2 separate regions of the Homo sapiens genome follow, and region 1 is linked to region 2. The links are contacts of gene promoters, found by promoter capture Hi-C in human tissues and cell types (Jung and others, 2019). All regions are on one chromosome and are shown on one strand. The core of a region is centred on a gene start or on the middle of the fragment in contact, and the rest is flanking DNA. Distances in the headings are between cores, read along the strand shown.

Region 1 (3,096 bases), core at 530-3,029, 370 kb after region 2:
TCTGATAAATTTGCAGAAACTCCTGTCCTCCACACTTTCTCTCCGAGCCTACTAATTGATGGAAACAATTTGGTTTAAATTTCTAACTGGGATCTGTCAGCAAGACGGAAAGTCAAGATTTCTATCATTATGGAAACAGGTTTCTACAGATCATTTTTATTTTTAAAAAAGTCATGTTTTTAACCATTCAAGAATACACATCAAAATTTAAGGATTACTAGAATAGAATTAAACATTGTAAAAAAAAAAACCCCATATTTTTAGTAAAATGGGCATGTGAAAATATATGTTTGTGTATCTTCACATACCCATTTCATATATATGTGTATAGATGATATTATATATGATATATGATATATATTCATATATACATATATGTATACTTGAAATATATATTTCATATATGTATACCCATTTCATATATATGTGTATATATGATATATATGATACATGATATATATTCATATATACATATATGTATACATGAAATATATATTTCATATATGTATATATATATGAAATGGGTATGTGAAAATACACAAACACATATTTTCACATGCCCATTTTAAATATTTGTTTGTGTGTGTATGTATATATATATATATATAAAATCAGAAAACGGAAAATGTCTAGAGTATCTGCGTTACGAGACTTCAGGCACCTGGGGAAAATTATTTTCTGACCAGCAGTCTCCGGAAGAGGAGCCAGGCCTTGTGTGTGGCCTTGGCCTGGGTCCCGGTCTTGCACTTTCTCCCTCTAGCCTGGTGGGCCAGGGCCAGGGGCCTTTGCTTTAATCCTACAGTTTCTGCTCAATCATTAGCCCTTCCTATGACCCTCACCTGGATGTGATCGTCCCTCTTTTACGCTCTAGTAACAGTATTGTTTTGGGTGGGTCAACATCCAAAACACTAGTGTCCTCATTTAATTAAGGTCAGGTCTCCTTATACTGGGTTAGCACTAAAGTAATTGCAGTTTTTGCAATTACTTTTAATGGCAAAGGCCACAATTACTTTTGCACCAATCTAATAACTTCCTTCATGGCAAAAACTTTTTGCTACCTTTATACTAAGTGTCTTGTACCTAGCAGCTGCTTTCAAAATGTATTAAATGAATGAATGAAATAAAAATAAAATTAAATTCAATGGTATATCATTTATCTTGGCATCTGATGTAAATTAGGTATCAATAAAGGGTAGCTATGATTATGAGGATACATAATTTCAGAACTAAGTTGTGAGGCGTCTTATTTCCATATCTCAACTAGTATTTGAAATGCAGCTTTAGGTGAAAAAGTTTAGGCTTCTAGACCATGTTTTTAAAAAGTTAATCAAACAATGGAAGCCTCAATATATAGTAGAATTTCTCTTGTATGTTGAACTCCCTAGAATATGCTCATAAACATATTTCTTTTTCAAGATAATTTTATTTTTCATGTTATGAAAATGTTAATGTAATTATACTAATCTTAAAATAAACAAAATCATGCTTAGTTTTGTCGTCCAGAGATAACCATATGAATGTGTAAATTTTGTTTTCTAGGCAGGATTCTTTTTTTTCAACATAGCTGTGATTCATTCAAATGAGTGAATTTAACAAATATTTGCATTACGTTTTTTATGTGTCAGGGCTGTGCTTATAGTGTGTACACTGTGTTTACATAGAGAATATAATTTTGTATTCAATTTTTTAGCAAATATAATAATAGACATTTGCCAATGTTATTCAAAACTCTTTGTAAATATAATCATGCTTTTTAAAAACTAAGCATCCTATGGTTGATCATTTTGGTCCTTTTCAATATTATAATACTGCAACATTGTTTTAGATGATTAGGATGCTTTGTTTAGGAAAGATTCCCAGATATAGATTTACTGGGAGGAAAGCTATGAGCATTTTAAGACTTTTGATTTACCAACTTGCTTTCCAAAATGGGGTACAAATTAACTGAATGGAAAGATAGAAATACAGAAAACAAAGAAAGGTAAATAATTGTGATATAGTATTTTGCAAATGTTGAAATAAATTCTTTAGCTAGAAAAAAAAGAAATATAGGAAACATGGAGAAATAGAAAATGTTTCTATATACAGAATACAGAAAAATACAGTTTTAAAAAAGTATACCTTAATATTAAGGCTTCCGCGGCAAACCAGAGTGAAGTGATGTTCAACCCCACTTTGTCAAATGCTTGAAATTCATTTGCAGTTGCCAGGTTATCTGGAGGTTTTGACGGTGCCCAGAGAGAGAAGGAAGTGTCTGTTTGAGGTGCCTTGCTCCTAATCCAGTGTCTCCTAAAAGCACAGAACCTTGGTAATTCAAGCAAGATGTCTTTCTGGTATGCCTAGAGGCACCTAAAACCATGACACAGTTAGGACAAATATAGTAGATTGTACACACACAGGAGTTTCATGTAACAAGTGAAACCAAGGTTTCTTTCAAAGCTTAGGGTTTCTTTCATGTGAAAGATACATTCTTATTTTTAGATAGGAAGAACTCCAGGCTGAAGCAAGCAGTGTGATATAATCTTGTATTGTCTTGAAGGAAATTAGCCAGGGAATTGATACATGTTTAGCCATGTCATTCCAGGAATCCTTTAAGCTGACTATAGGGAGCTAATACTTTCTGAAAGTAATTTTACCCAAAAGAAACACAGACTTTTGGCTGGGCGCGGTGGCTCACGCCTGTAATCCCAGCACTTTGGGAGGCTGAGGCGGGCAGATCATGAGGTCAGGAGATCGAGACTATCCTGGATAACACGGTGAAACCCCGTCTCTACTAAAAATAGAAAAAATTGACAACTGAGTATAAAGCTTAGAAATTTGGCAGTGAATAAAGAGGTAGAATATTTACCAGTCCAACTCTTGGAACCCTTCCCAAAGCATACTCCTAAAGGCTGAGTGTTTAGCTAACTCTTACAAATGCAAAGATTTATCAGGCCTTCACTGGCTGATTGCAGGTGTTATGCACATGAGGTCATGATTTCAATTCCCACATAACACGGTTAACTGTACTTTATTTCATAACCAGCCTACCTTGTCCTACACTGAATTGGTGTTTGTAAGGAGACAGCATGAGGTAGGCCCTGGGAAGGAAGAAAC
Region 2 (3,071 bases), core at 557-3,056:
AAAAAAAAAAAAAAAAAAGTATCATTACTATTATTTTTTGAGACAGGGTCTCACTCTGTCACCCAGGTTGGAGTGCAGTGGCACGATCACAGCTCACTGCAGCCTCCACCCATGGGCTCAGGTGATCCTCCCCACTGAGCCTCCCCAGTAGCTGGGACTACGGGAGAGGGCAACTACGACCGGCTTTTTGTAAAAAAAAAAAAAAAAAAAAAAAAAAGTATCACTATAAAGAGCATGCAACAGTAAGTTTTTAACAATTACTACCGTCACTAAAGCCAATTTGGAACAGAGACCTAGGCCTTAAGTAGCTGTAAAAGTGTCAAGACTTTCAAATATAAAGAAGCATATTCAAACACACTTCTTTTACTAAAAATAAACTTCGAAATTTATTTTAAAACCCACTTACAGGATGAGATTGACAACGTATCTCAGGCTGAAGAGGGAGGCAGGTGGAAGAGTGGTTCTTTACAAGAGAAGGGATGTGCAAGTACTCTTTGAAATAACAACCTTAGAAGGAGAAAGATAATTGCAAGGATCCAAAGGAAGTGCACACAGGGCAAAAGGAACATACAGAGATCCTTAACGAGACCTTCTTTCCAATGTCAAAGAACACAAGGCAGCGAGGGGCACTGGGAACAAAAGGGAAAAAACTGTGTGAGATGCAATTACCAAGGGAGGCAGGCACCCGACCCCGCAGAGCAGCAAATGGAAGTGACTCAGGAGGGGAATAAGCCAAATTCATGTTATTGAAAAGCTCATTCTAGCTGCCAGATGGAAACTGACTGTGGACGGAAGGAGCAAGAGTTAGGAGGCCTCTTGCAAATACGCACTTTATGAAGCTTTACGAAGTGTTCAACATGTTTATTATTAGGAAAAGATCAATTTTAGTATTCAATCACTTACAATCCGCAGCGCTAGTCAACAATTAACATTCGTTAAATAAGTTTTAAGACTGTTCTACAACTTTGCCACTGTAACTAAGTTCAACCGATGAGATGTCAAAATGATTCATTCAATCTTATACTATGGTTATATGAGACACCAGTTAATGAGCAAAAGCAGCTAAGACGAAGCTCCACTTAACAGGTACAGAGACAGGGATGCTGGTGAGTGCTTTTTAAATTTTTTCTTTTTTTAAAAACAGGCATGAAGTGACATACCTAGCGTATATGGTGAGATTTTAAAAACATAAAGCCTTGCAAACTACCCATAACGGCTACATGGAGTGACAACAGCAACCGTGAACACAGAATTAAGTTTAAAGCAAAACTCCCTCTTAGAACCTGTTAACCCACTGTAGACAGAACTGGTCTTGACGATTTCCTCCCTCCCAGAGAGTGATTCGGCCCTGAGGGGGCTCCAAGACACCCACCCGAGGATAAAGCCAGGGAGCTGGGCACCGAGGAAGAGGCTGGGGTCCAAGGGCGCACAGCTGCACCTTCTGCGGGACACCTGAGAAGAAAGGGGTGCCGAGGGCGCTTTGGGGACGGGGCAGCTGGCGCCAACAGCCAGGCGCGGGTCGACTCCTCACCTCGGGACTGGGACGCGGCGGCTCCTCCCCGCCCTCCGGCCGCGGCGACTCCAGCAGCGCGAGAGCCACGGCCTCGCCGGCAGGCTCTTTACTCTGTGGATCCTCCATGCCGGCTGTCACGCCAGAGGAGAGTTGCTGGAGCCGGACACTTGCTAACTCTCACTCTGCAGAGCCCGAAAGCCTCGCCTTTCTCCGTTGAAAAATTACCGGGCTCGCGTTCCCGCGGCGGCGGCCACACAAACTCCAGCGGCCACCTCCCACTTCCGGGAGCGTGTGGCGTCCACACGCCGGGCAGGCGCAGTGAGCCGGCGTGCGCGGAACGCCAGCGCCGCAGTCCACAGGGGGAGGGAGGACGAACAAGAGGGAGGCGCGCCGGTGAGAAGACGGGGCGTGGCCGGCCGTAGGCGGAGCTAGCGCGGGTTGAAGTTGCGCAAGGATCTAGTCCAGTCACTGGAGGGTAGCACCGGCACGTGTGTTCCCGTCAGTGTTTCCTGAGAAGGAAAAAAGTAGGGTGAGTGGGAAGATATCATAGAGAAAGATGTTTTCGACCATAAAAAATAATAAAACAATTCACATTTTCCATAAGGAGTTTCCTAAAACTTCCACTCTGGGCAAGAAAAGAAAATGGGTCGGGACTTAGTGTCCCACTATAAACAATTAGAAAACGGAACAAAATATAGGAGACACCTATTCAGACATTGGACAACGGACAGCTGTGGACTGTTTTACCTGAGAGAAAAGAAATAAAAGGAGCCGTATATCATCCTGCCCTTTTGCCCAGAGGCGATTTCCAGTCTGTGGTGCGATGAAAGGAAATCATATGGAAACCTAGGATCTCCTGGGTTGAAAAGACAGAGATTGGAGTTGACGAAATTGGGGTAGGCCAAGTCGGTTGGAATTTGTAGGGCAGAATTCTGGAGAGGAGGGAATTACATGGAAAAAGAGCTTCAGAAATCTGCTTAGGAGTACCTTGAATCTTTAACTGAATAAAAAACGTGAAACTCCACAAGGCCAGGAAAGAACAATTACTGGGGAGCAGTACACCAAACAATGGTGAGAGGTCACACAGAACTGGGAATCATTTGAGCTCCCAGCAACCAGAGTGAAGAGATTATTGAATACCATGGAACACGCAATAGAAACCTCAGATGTGAAACTGCCATTGCAAAATTATCATTGAGACAGTGAAAGAGATCAGACCTAACCAACTCCATCTTGCTTTTAACCTCCAGGCTATCCTTATTCATTCCTAGGCGTAGGCCAAACTAACACTGGGAGGAACTTAGTGTATAGCTTATAGTTTAAAACAAAGGTGATAGCCCTTTCTCAAAATAAACCCTCTTCTTGAGACTAGACTGCTTTTGTAGGACTAGTAAATTAGCCGAAAGATTAGAAATTATGATTTAGGACTCATGCAGCTGAAGGCTACAAGATTCTAACCCTCTCCAAATTGCTCCTGGGGATAATATCACTATTGTAAAATCTAAGATCAGTGCTTGAGATATTTTGCAGGCCCTGCACTTGATGGATCAGCTGGCAC

Evidence for each region. Contacts are between HindIII fragments. The study calls those that stand out against the background at their distance.
Region 1: a contact is called between a fragment that was not itself captured here and the fragment with the promoter of ERI1 in region 2, in 2 of the 25 tissues and cell types used here (lymphoblastoid cells and mesenchymal stem cells).

What each region holds. Positions count from the first base shown.
Region 1 is chr8:8,631,396-8,634,491 of GRCh38, reverse strand. No RefSeq gene overlaps it. Among named protein-coding and RNA genes, the nearest start is that of CLDN23, 69 kb to the left of the region's middle. RefSeq lists an enhancer at 2,526-2,665. The HindIII fragment of the contact is 7,577 bases long and covers 1-3,096 here.
Region 2 is chr8:9,001,632-9,004,702 of GRCh38, reverse strand. It overlaps ERI1 (exoribonuclease 1), which reads right to left and starts at 1,806. Exons shown (of 7, transcript NM_153332.4): 1 at 1,532-1,806. The coding sequence starts at 1,639. It overlaps LOC105379227 (a long non-coding RNA gene), which reads left to right and starts at 1,961. Exons shown (of 3, transcript XR_002956680.2): 1 at 1,961-2,042. The HindIII fragment of the contact is 7,447 bases long and covers 1-3,071 here.